2 separate regions of the Homo sapiens genome follow, and region 2 is linked to region 1. The links are contacts of gene promoters, found by promoter capture Hi-C in human tissues and cell types (Jung and others, 2019). All regions are on one chromosome and are shown on one strand. The core of a region is centred on a gene start or on the middle of the fragment in contact, and the rest is flanking DNA. Distances in the headings are between cores, read along the strand shown.

What was found. Contacts are between HindIII fragments. The study calls those that stand out against the background at their distance.
Region 2: the fragment with the promoter of STAT3 here is called in contact with a fragment that was not itself captured in region 1 in 1 of the 25 tissues and cell types used here (pancreas).

The regions. Positions count from the first base shown.
Region 1 is chr17:41,968,113-41,974,414 of GRCh38, forward strand. CNP (2'',3''-cyclic nucleotide 3'' phosphodiesterase) reads left to right here. Exons shown (of 4, transcript NM_033133.5): 2 at 1-628; 3 at 3,780-3,919; 4 at 5,363-6,302. The coding sequence ends at 5,812. Among named protein-coding and RNA genes, the nearest start is that of CNP, 4.5 kb to the left of the region's middle. RefSeq lists enhancers at 1-272, 273-830, 5,061-5,180. The HindIII fragment of the contact is 5,813 bases long and covers 1,021-6,302 here.
Region 2 is chr17:42,384,775-42,391,076 of GRCh38, forward strand. STAT3 (signal transducer and activator of transcription 3) reads right to left here and starts at 3,668. Exons shown (of 24, transcript NM_139276.3): 1 at 3,505-3,668. RefSeq lists silencers at 3,009-3,088, 3,319-3,598 and an enhancer at 4,119-4,388. The HindIII fragment of the contact is 15,490 bases long and covers 1-6,302 here.

The DNA of each region.
Region 1 (6,302 bases), core at 2,677-5,176:
TTCTTCCGCAAGATGTCATCCTCAGGGGCCAAGGACAAGCCTGAGCTGCAGTTTCCCTTCCTTCAGGATGAGGACACAGTGGCCACGCTGCTAGAGTGCAAGACGCTCTTCATCTTGCGCGGCCTGCCAGGAAGCGGCAAGTCCACGCTGGCACGGGTCATCGTGGACAAGTACCGTGATGGCACCAAGATGGTGTCGGCTGACGCTTACAAGATCACCCCCGGCGCTCGAGGAGCCTTCTCCGAGGAGTACAAGCGGCTCGATGAGGACCTGGCTGCCTACTGCCGCCGCCGGGACATCAGAATTCTTGTGCTTGATGACACCAACCACGAACGGGAACGGCTGGAGCAGCTCTTTGAAATGGCCGACCAGTACCAGTACCAGGTGGTGCTGGTGGAGCCCAAGACGGCGTGGCGGCTGGACTGTGCCCAGCTCAAGGAGAAGAACCAGTGGCAGCTGTCGGCTGATGACCTGAAGAAGCTGAAGCCTGGGCTGGAGAAGGACTTCCTGCCGCTCTACTTCGGCTGGTTCCTGACCAAGAAGAGCTCTGAGACCCTCCGCAAAGCCGGCCAGGTCTTCCTGGAAGAGCTGGGGAACCACAAGGCCTTCAAGAAGGAGCTGCGACAATGTAGGTGGCAGGTTGGGGCCTTATAAGCCCACCTTGCTGGGCACAGGGTGCTGCGGGCAAAGGACCATCATTGTACTCAAAGGATGGAGCACGAAGCAGCAGGAGGCAGAGAGAGGCTCACCTCAGCGGGGGCAGGGGCAAGCGGTGCGTCCCAGTGGTAGCCTTGGGGAGTTGGCAGCACATTGGGAACACGGGGGCTTCCCAGAGCGCCTTTCCTCCCACCACACCTATCCTTCTAGCCCTCTTCTCTCCGACACCCTTTTCCCAGCCTGAATGTAGACCACTGTCCCTTGTCTTGGAGGTGGGAAAAACAAATTACTGTAGTAACAGGAAACATGTCCTCTTCTAATGTAACCTTAGAGGGGGAATCAAGCCCAGTGTTTTCCAACGCATTTTTAGCAGCAGAATCATGTTCCAAAAAATAATAATAATAATCACATGAAATTGTAAGCTGCAAAAAAATTAAAACTAGGACTATTGTGGCTTCACTGGGGATGGTTCTCAGGCCTCGGACTGCTCAATTTACTCATGGGTTTGTGGCATCTGCAGCTCCAGAGGACACAAGTCTCACACTTAGGCCAAAACCCGTTTTCAGATGGAAAAACATGGACCCAGGAGGGATGTGGGGTTTACGGGCTGGAACCCTGGACTCTGGCCACTCTAGCAGGGTTCTCTCTTGGCATGGGCTTTTTGCTCCAATGATAGGTTTGAGATAAAGAAGGGTCCTGGTGGCTCTCCTGGAGTGACCTGTTGGAGAAGTGCCACCCACTAATCCATCTATATGCCTTTAGGCCATTTCTGGTTGCCTCCAATTTTATTTATTTATTTATTGTGACACGGAGTCTCCCTCTGTTGCCCAGGCTGGAGTGCAGTGGCGCTATCTCAGCTCAGTGCAACCTCTGCCTCCCAGATTCAAGCAATTCTCCTGCCTCAGCCTCTCGAGTAGCTAGGACTACAGGTGTGCACCACCACGTCCAGCTAATTTTTGTATTTTTAGTAGAGACGGAGTTTCACAATGTTGGCCAGGCTGGTATTGAACTCCTGACCTCAGGTGATCCGCTTGCCTTGGCCTCCCAAAGTGCTGGGATTACAGGCGTGAGCCACCACCGCACCCAGCCACCCCCAATTTTAGATGATCTTCATGCCTGAAATAGCCCCACTCTGGTTTGTTGACATTGTGTATATTGCACAGAAGCAGGGAATTTGTGCCTGTATGGGTTCTCAGAGAGCTTTTTTCTCAGCTCCTAAACTTGAACTCTGCAGTGAACTGTGGTGCTTGCAGTGACATTGGCCAGGAGCAAGCCCTGTACCTGTGAGCTGGTGGCTCTGCCCTGGAGTGACTACTGCTCAAAGTTGCTTTTAATATTTATTTATGAGACGGAGTCTTGCTCTGTTGCCCAGGCTGGAGTGCAGTGGCATGATCTCGGCTCACTGCAACCTCCGCCTCCTGGGTTCAAGCCAATTCTCTGCCTCAGCTTCCCAAGTAGCTGGGAATACAGGCGCCTGCCACCATGCCCGGCTAATTTTTTTTTATTTTTGTATTTTTAGTAGAGACAGGGTTTCACCATCTTGACCAGGCTGGTCGGTAGCACAAAAGAAAGGAGGGGCCCTTGGCCCAAGATGGGACGAATCAAGCTTGACAGGATGATTGCCAGATCTTTTTTTTTTTTTTTTTTGAGACGGGGGTCTTGCTCTGTCGCCCAGGCTGGAGTGCAGTGGGGCAATTCGGCTTACTGCAACCTCCATCTCCCGGGTTCAAGCAATTCTCCTGCCTCAGCCACCCAAGTAGCTGGGATTACAGGCACCCGCCACCATACCTGGCTAATTTATAAATTTTTAGTAGAGACAGGGTTTCACCATGTTGGCCAGGCTGGTCTCAAACGCCCCGCCTCAATTTCCCAAATTGCCGGGATTACAGGTGCGAGCCACTATGCCCAGCCTATTTTATTTGTAAAGGAAAACTGGATTTTTCTGCCCAGGATTAGAGCAGGAGAAATGTAATGGGCCAGCAAGGCTGCTCTCAGGAGAGGCCTTCCTCCCCTGTGGAGGGCGAGACATCCTCATGGGGACTCAATTCAGAACATAACAGGAAAAAGCGAGTGACTCCAAAGACAGCCACAGGTGTGGAGTCTGGAAATCAAAATCACAGATACTCCACTCCTCTTTGTGTCTTCCAGCCCCATAATGTCACCCCATTATAGTCCAAGACCCTTCCTGTACCAGGAGGCCCCCCCATAGGCCTGCAAGGTGTGTATTAAACTGATGGTGACGTTGTGACTGCTTGTCCAGATGGGCCCCTGAGTGAAATGGGGCACTACTGATAGTTCCCTGGTGGTCCTGGGAACACTGGGGTATATGGTCACCCTAACTGTTGTGCTGGATTGATAGATAGGGTTGGTCACTTGCCCGAGGCCGATGGCTGGTACATGGCAGAGCTGAGATATTCACTGTGTTCTGGCTGTTTCCACCGTACCATGTTGTTCCCAGCCCTCTGTTTTCTTTCCACCCCACTTCCCATGACTTGCTTCCCCTTTGAGACGTGGTGCTAGTAAATCTTAGATTCCCTTGGCCTGTACTGCCTGCCTCTGTTACAAATGCCTTAGAGTTTGGAGAAGAGATGGAAAGATCTATACAATGTAAAGCCAGAGAATTTTAACTTTTTTTTTTTTTTTTTTGGAGACGGAGTCTTGCTCTGTTGCCTAGGCTGGAGTGCAGTGGCACTATCTCGGCTCGCTGTATCCTCTGCCTCCTGGGTTCAAGCAATTCTCTACCTCAGCCTCCCAAGTAGCTGGGATTACAGGCGCCCGCCACCACGCCTGGCTAATTTCTTTGTATTTTTAGTAGAGACGGGGTTTCACCATCTTGGCCAGGCTGGTCTTGAATTCCTGACCTTGTGATCCACCCACCTCGGCCTCCCAGAGTGCTGGGATTACAGGTGTGAACCACCGCACCTGGCCTGAGAATTTTAACTTTTTATTGCTCTAAAGTTGCCATTAGTTTGACCAACTAACCAATGAATGAGCTGTAGTGGGTTGCTGGAGAGGTGATGCTTAGTGTCCGAGTGTTTTGCGCTGGGCCTCGGTGGTCCTGGTGGCGGATGTTGGTATGCCCCTGCTCCCCTGCCCTGACTGCACCCGTTTTCTCCCGGCAGTCGTCCCTGGGGATGAGCCCAGGGAGAAGATGGACTTGGTCACCTACTTTGGAAAGAGACCCCCAGGCGTGCTGCATTGCACAACCAAGTTTTGTGACTACGGGAAGGCTCCCGGGGCAGAGGAGTACGCTCAACAAGATGTGAGTCTTCCCCAGGGACACATGGGGGAGGTGGGAGGTTGGGGGAGAAGGGGCTGCAGCATCTTCTGAAGATAGGTACCGGTGCCAGGCAGGGACCAAAAACCAGATGGCAGCTCAAGAAAAATGGCATCTCCTCCTCCTAGCTCCCCTGTCCCCAGGCGTAGCTGCATAGACCTCAGCCGCAGGTTCTAAGGAGCCTGCCCTGGCAGTACTGCCAGCCTGTGCATTCACCTGCCCCCAAGCACCTTCGCCTTCTGCAGATTCATGGAGAATGCTGGTCCACAGTGGGCTCCTGCTCTGGTCTCTCTGAGCCTGTTTTACCTTCCAAAGACTAGGAGTCCTTCGCCCCCAGGGAGCCTGGTGCACTGAGGTCCCCATCCCTGTCCCCAGGTCTGAGGTCTGGCCTGGCCCCAGAGTGAGGGAGTTTCATACGATAATGAAGCTTATTGGCTAATGGGTACGAGACCTTTCTGCACCACACAGCTGGCACCTTACACCCACAGCCACTGACAGTGATCCCTGAATGCCAGGCATGTCACCCATATCCACAGTCTCCAACTTCCAAGTGTCCACCCCCAAGCCCACTCTCCCACTTCTCTGCCTAGGTTAGCACAATCGTTTGTTTGTTCACTAGAGTGTCCTCCCAAATGGAAGCTCCCCTGAGGGCGAGTTTTTAAGTTTCGTTGACTCCTGTGGTTCCAGCACCCTAGCATAGTGGAATGAATATGTAACACCTGAGCTACCATCCCTAACCATGCCTTCATTTAGCATTTATTAACTACCCATTTCATGCCAGACACTGTTGGGACAAGGGATCGTGAGCAAAAATAGAAAAGCGTTTATGCTGAGATGGGATGGGCTGTCTCAAAGAATCAGATAGAAGCAGACATATCATCAGATGGGAACCAAAGTGTAAGAGCAGGTTTCCATCAAGGGCGAGTCTGACCTCAGTCTGACCTCACCCTGTCCTCCAGGGCGCTGTCTGGGTCCCAGGGGAAGCTGAGCGGTGCCAACAGTAGCAGCTGTTGTGTGCGCGGACACCCCTGTGGGCTGTTTACCTAGTCACTCTCATAACCACATTAACTCTGAGGTAGGCTCTGGTTCTCCCTGTTTTACGGGTGATGAAGCCAAGGCACCGAGAGGTCAGCCAGCCCGCTGAGGCCGGAAGCCAGTGTGCAGGGAGCTGGGCTCCCTCAGGAAGTCCGGCTGTCCCCGTGTGGCCCTGTCTGAGCGCCTTCGTGTTTCTCACTTGAGCCTGGAGCGCCTATGGAAGGTGCGTGCCGCAGTTGTTAGTGGATGCTGGGCCTATACCGACCCCTGCTCAGCTGTGCTCACTTCTGTTAGACTTCCCCTTCTCTCCTCCAGGAGGGACCCTCCCTGGGTCAGCTGTTCCTCAAGAGCCTGCCATCTCTAGCTTGGGCCCCTCTTTCTCACTCTCCCCAGGTGTTAAAGAAATCTTACTCCAAGGCCTTCACGCTGACCATCTCTGCCCTCTTTGTGACACCCAAGACGACTGGGGCCCGGGTGGAGTTAAGCGAGCAGCAACTGCAGTTGTGGCCGAGTGATGTGGACAAGCTGTCACCCACTGACAACCTGCCGCGGGGGAGCCGCGCCCACATCACCCTCGGCTGTGCAGCTGACGTAGAGGCCGTGCAGACGGGCCTTGACCTCTTAGAGATTCTGCGGCAGGAGAAGGGGGGCAGCCGAGGCGAGGAGGTGGGCGAGCTAAGCCGGGGCAAGCTCTATTCCTTGGGCAATGGGCGCTGGATGCTGACCCTGGCCAAGAACATGGAGGTCAGGGCCATCTTCACGGGGTACTACGGGAAAGGCAAACCTGTGCCCACGCAAGGTAGCCGGAAGGGGGGCGCCTTGCAGTCCTGCACCATCATATGAGTGTTCTCACCACCACTTATGCCCCTAGAAGGGAAGGGGAGAGGGAAACGTGCCCTCTGTTTGATCCTTGTTTTGTGACATTTTTTTTTTTTTTTTTTTTACTCAAAGTTAACCTACCTGTAACTTTTTAAAAACTTGTAAAATAACTGACCCTCCCTTCCTGTCCGCCCTCTTCCCCTCTAATGCTCACGCTCCCAACACAAGGTGGGCAGGGAGGCACCATTCAGGAACCTGGACCAAAGCTGACGAGGCTGGGCCAAGCCAGGGATGGGGCCACAGCCAGAACCCCGAGCCCTACTTCCAGGTTCTGGTTAGCTCAGCCCCAGCCCAGCCCAGCTGCTCTGCCCAGAGCTGGGTGAGTGGGGAGACACCTCAGAGCCCCGCAAAACCCACTGACCGGAGGCAAAAGGCAGTGGGGCTGGGGGTAGTTTTCCATGGTCACAGAGAACTAGTGGTGGCTCTGAGAAGGGGAGGACCTCTGGGCTTTGAT
Region 2 (6,302 bases), core at 2,418-4,917, 420 kb after region 1:
CAAACTCCTGGGCTCAAGCAATCCTCCTGCCTCAGCCTCCCAAAGTGCTGGGATTACAGGCATAAACCACCGCAAATTCTTTACACCTATCAAATTCCACCCATTATTTGGGACCCAGTTGAAATCCCTCTTTGGCAAAAAGACTTTCTAGACAACTCCAGGCCTCATAACCTCTCCTTTCTCTGAAGATCTGTAGCATTCAGCCTAGCACTGTCCAATAGAACGTTCTATGATAACAGAAAAGTTCTACATCTGTACTGTATGTTCTTTTATGTAGAACAGCTACCTTGTTAGCACAAGTGTAAAGTCTCACCATCTCTTTGATGACAACATGTTACATTGGATGGTTAAAACATTTATCAGCTCCCCCAGTAGACTGCAATTTCTGTGAACAAGATACAACTTATTCTTCATAGCAACTCTGACAAAGTTGCAAAAGGTATATATATGTTGGCCAGGCAAGGTGGTTCACGCCTGTAATCCCAGCACTTTGGGAGGCTGAGGTGGGCAGATCTCTTGAGGTCAGGAGTTTGAGACCAGCCTGGTCAATATAGTGAAACCTTATCTCTACTAAAAATACAAAAATTAGCCGGGCGTAGTGGCGGGCACCTGTAATCCCAGCTACTCAGGAGGCTGAGGTGCGAGAATCACTTGAACCCGGGAGGAGGAGGTTGCAGTGAGCCACGATCATGCCACTGCACTCCAGCCTGGGTGATAGAGTGCAACTCCAACTCAAAAAAAAAAAAAAAAAAGTATATATTTGTTGATTTGCACATCACCTAAGAAAACCATAAGCTAAGAAGGTTTGGACTCAGGCGTCTGGAAAGTTGGTCACCACCTCTACCCCACCTCATATCTGAATGTCAAGAGACACGTAGAGGCAGAGAAGTTAAAGCAACTTTCTAGAGACAGAAATGACCACTGATCAAGCCACAATGCACTCTGGTTTAAATGACATTTAGGTCATGACTGTCCTTAATCTAAAACAAACCTAGATTAGTATTTCTTTTCATTAGTAAATAGCTAAATTCTGATGGTAAATTATGCTGACCAAAAACAGTTCCTCACTTCCCAAGTTAGACATAGCAATTAGAAAAATAATCTAAGCAAGCTCCATTTGTATTTCTTTTTTCACCTGTTTATTGAATATTTACCTCCCATGAAGTCTTTCAGCCTATTGGTGGTATTTTACTGTTCAGATATATGTTAGAATTTCACTGATACTTACTGGGCGCGGTGGCTCACACCTGTAATCCCAGCACTTTGGGAGATAGAGGTGGGCAAATCACAAGGTCAGGAGTTCAAGACCAGCCTGGCCAATATGGTAAAACCCCGGTCTCTACTAAAAATACAAAAATTAGCTGGGCGTGGTGGCGCACGCCTGTAGTCCCAGCTACTTGGGAGGCTGAGGCAGGAGAATCGCTTGAACCCAGGAGGCAGAGGTTGCAGTGAGCCAAGATTGCGCCACTGCACTCTAGCCTGGGCAACAGAGCAAGACTCTGACTCAAAAAAAAAAAAAAAAAGAATTTCACTGATACTTTTCACAAAATATACAGAAGGAGGCACAAATTCCACCACTATGGCACTCTGCTGCGTTGGCCAAGTGTCTTGATCCTTTGGCCTCAATTTTCTTATCTACGATATTAGGGTAATTGTTATGTGAACTACCCACCTCACAAGTCCTTTGTGGGTTAATTCATAACTGTGCTGTGGGTATTTCTTTTTCTTTCCTTTCTTCCTCCTTTCCTTTCTTTCTTTCTTAAAGATGGGTTCTCATTATGGTGCTTAGACTAGACTCTAGACCCAATTCCTGGCCTCTCACCATGTTGCCCAGACCAGACTCAACTCCTGGACTCAAGGAATCCTCCCACCTCAGCCTTCAATTAGCTGGGATCAGAGGTGTGCACCACCATGCCTGGCACTGTGGATATTTCTAAGTGATTATTCTTCTCAAATGAACTACATAAAAAACAAAAGATTCATGAATTTACTAATGGTTCTTTGTGATGGATGTGCTAATATAGAGACTAAAATCAAGGCTCCAACCTCTAAAACATTTTTTTTTAAATTCCAGACTTGTTTCCCCATCCCACTGTGCAAACTGAACAAAAACTGGGCTAGCACTCCTGTCTGGAACATGTAATAAGGAAATAAATGTGCTGACTCAGAGAACACAGACATATTTAATATAAAATAAGATAGAAAACTGGCTGAACCAAGTCATAACACAGTCTAAATCCACATATAAAAGATTGAGATGATTTTCTGCTTTGCTTTATTCAAGCCCAATGCTTTATCAGCACAGCCAGCCAAAAATTTACAACCCATACACAGACTATGTAAACCTTTAGTTGCACATACAGTAAGACCAGCAGGTACACACTATACACATTTTTAATTAAAAAAATGACTAACCACTGATTTTGTCACCACACTTAACAACGACCTGATATGGCACAGAGTGATGTGTACCAAACATGGAAATACCAACTTGGGCGACGGTTTGAATCTTGTTAACTTCAGTGCAACCACACCCCCCAAATGCATGTAAAGTTTGCACACATGGTTTTTTCAAGGCCAGCCTGTCTTTGTTTCCCTCTCCTCTGCATTTACCCAAGATCTTGGCTCTGAGACAGAAAACTCCCACTCTCAATTGGTTCATTCCGTCCTATGCAATTAAGCAACACCACAATCCAGTAAATGCAATGGCTCAATTATTTATCTTCTGGCCGACTTTACCAGGTATTTGGAAAAGGACAATGTCAAGAGGTTTATTTCTCTCTCTAGAGCTGGCTTGACGGGTTGATGGGGATTTTATTTTGTCTTTTTTTCTCTTTTTTACAAGGCGGGGACGTGGGGGGAGCATAATTTAACCTAGAAAAAGATGCGAGGGAATTTAGAAAGAGTACCGGTCTGTCAATTTCCCTACAGGAAACTTGATTCTTATGCAATAAAGCCTACCCACGACCAGCCAGCCCGTAAGGCTGCAGGCGACAGACACACCTATTCCTGCCTCCAAAAGGGCACAGCTGTCTCCTGAAGGAGCGGGAACAGGGCAAGCGGAGGAAGTGGCTCAGCGGGAGCCGCCGACCGGGCGGGGAGGAGGCGCTTTCCGACCCCCCACTCGCGCCGGTGATCCCCGTCGGCGTGACAGTCGCTCCGGTGGCCGGAACGTCCCCAGGGCCCCAGGGAGCAGGAAATCGGGGGACTGTCCCTCACTCCTGCCGCCGCAACCGAGTGCGCCCTCGCCCCACGGTGCCCCCTCGAGCGCGTTCTGTTTCTCCGAAGAACGAAACTTCCCTCCAGCGCCCCGAGTCCCTTCCGAGGCCCGCTCCTGTCATCCCGAAGAGTCTTCCCTCAGGGCGACCCTCCGCGTCTCTTCATCTCTCCCGGCCCCACTGCAGCGTCCATCACAACATCCCCAAGGTCCCAGAGGCCCCCTGCCGCTGCGGAGCCCCCGGGTCCCCAGGCCTCCCCAACGGCCCCACCCTGCACCCCCTTCACCTGTTTCTCCGGCAGAGGCCGAGAGGCCGGGGCTGCGCGTGTGCCGGGGACGGGCGGCGAGGCTCCCTCAGGCCGAAGGGCCTCTCCGAGCCGAGGGGGAGAGACAGCGCCAAGCCGGGGTGCCTGTCCAGGATCCGGTTGGGGCTTGTTCCCTCGGCTGCGACGTCGGAACCCCCGGCTCCCCCTCCCAGTCTGCGCCGCCGCAGCTCCGGAAACCGCTGAATTACAGCCCCTTCAGCCAATCCTCGCCCAGCCCCAGCCTGGCCGAGGCACGCCGTCATGCATAATTCATGAAAGGCCAGCTCGTTCGGCCACCCAGAGGTCCCAGTGCGTGTGCGGTACAGCCGAAGCCCCGCCCACTGACCAATGAGGAGAGCAGCTAGGAGAAAGGGCGGAGCCAAGAGGAGACTGATACGCCCCTGTGCTGGCTGTTCCGACAGTTCGGTGCTCCTCCCTCCGCCACAGCGAGGGAAGAGCCGAGGACTTGGGCACAGAAGCCCGGGGGGAGGGAGGGAAGATGACCGGAATGTCCTGCTGAAAACTCAGCTGAGTTCCTGGCAGTGCGTGACGTCAAGGCACTTTAAATGCCCCTGATACAGCTCCCTCCTGCCCGCTCTCCCTTTTCCCGGCCCTTGGCACCACGTGGTGGCGAGGTTGAGAGCCTCTTACCACGCGGGAATCAGCTAGTTAGATAGTCCCCAGGTATCTCCAGATCCTCTGGGGACCCAACTCCTGAATTGGGTTCTGGGGACAACAAAAAGAACATGGGTGACTCCGCCTGCTTTGAACTTCAGTTTCTGCGTGAGCAGGGACACACACACCCGGAAACATGACGTGGAAATAGAGTAATTACTAGAGTGCGTGGGGAGAGGGTAGTGGATTTAACCCCGTACTCCGTTCCATCACTTCAAGCATCAAACGCCGACCAGCTAGCCCATTGGCCCGTACAGGCGAATGCAGAAGACGGTGTATACGAAAGCTGATAACGTGTAGGGCTTGACATTTTTATGCGTCTGAATTGAAATACATGAAATGTTCTGCCTTTTTCTTTTCCACCTTGCCTACTTGGTATGCAAGTTTTACTGAATTGAAGCCAGTGGTTGATAGGAAATGTAGACATTTTGCCTTTCATAATAGAGGATGAACTTTGCATAATGGAGTGATTTCTGTGTATGTGCTGATACTATCAGGGTTTTTAATTTTTATTTTTTTGGGTCTTTAAAAATATGTTATTAATATTTGTGTTTGTTTAATACGAACAGGTATAAAGACAAAAATCTAAAAAGGACCCATTATCTCACTGCTCAGCTAACCCCTGACATATTTTTTTTCAATGAACCTAATACATGTTCCTGTTTAGAAAATGCAGACCGTTCAGAAAGGTCAAAAATATTAAATGAAAATCTTTCCCTACCCCCATCATTCCTTCTCCCCAAGGATAGCTGTTCTTATTAATTTCTAGTGAGAAAAATCAATGACTCTTAACCTTTGAAGGCAGTCACAGATCCTTCTGAGTGTTTGAAGGAGACTAGATTCTAGCCCCAGAAACAATACAAGGTTTTACTCACATGGTTCCCCAGATACCTGAAGCCTGTCTAAGTCTACAGATTCAGACCGCTCGTACCACCTCATATCCAATGAGGGACAGAGGCATCTACAGGGCAATTCATAGGGTCACTGGTGGTGAGAATTGAGAACCTCCTATTGCCCTCTGGTAGACACAGCTCAGTATGGAAATTGCTGTATTTACCTGTAGAGTGTGTGTGTATTGATTAGGCTGTTTATCTACACCACAGGACAGATATCCCCCATCTCCGCCTATAGTCTCTTGTAACTACGCTATCCCGTGCGGCCAACTGCCTCCCTGATAACATAGGGTCTAGGATTTGTTTAGTGATTTACTGCTTACAAAGGACTTACACACCTTATACACTCCCTGCCTGGTTTCTTTCTCACAATCATGAATAGCAGATAGGAGAGGCCATATTATCCGCTGATAGAAAACTAAAGACAACATAATATGACATTTTCAAGATCACAGAGAAACTCAGAAATATACCAGGTTCAGAGTCAGGTTTGGGGGCTTTACGTCCCATAGCTTTGTTCCATTCATTCAAACCCTGCCCTGCTTCTGACTTCTCAAGAGCTGGCCTCTGTTTCCCTCATTGGCCTCCCCACCAGTAACACATAAAATCTACCTCTGCGACTATGGGTTTGACCTGCAAAAATTCTCTTCAGCCCAGACACTGGCCTTTCTCCACAACCCCGCCAAATTCCTCTTGGCTAAATGCTGCAATTTCTGTCCCTTGGGCCACTGCCTTAACCACCTGATTATTCTCTCCTTATTCTATCCTATTCTTCCACTGGCTGCCAGGGACATCATCCTAAAAATTAAATAAATAAACATTCAGGCCAAGGCGGGTGGATCACAAGGTCAGTTCAAGACCAGCCTGGCCAACACAGTGAAACCCCGTCTCTACTAAAAATACAAAAATTAGGCTGGGCACTGTGGCTCACGCCTGTAATCCCAGCACTTTAGGAGGCTGAGGCGGGCAGATCACCTGAGGTCAGGAGTTCGAGACCAGCCTGACTAATATGATGAAACCCTGTCTCTACTAAAAATACAAAAATCAGCCAGTCATGGTGGCTTGCACCTGTAATCCCTGCTACTCGGGAGGCTGAGGGAAGAGAATCTCTTGAACCCGGGAGGTGAAGGTTGCAGTGAGCCGAGATCGCGCCATTGCATTCTAGCCTGGACAACAAGAGCGAAACTCCATCTCAAAACAAAAGTAAAAATT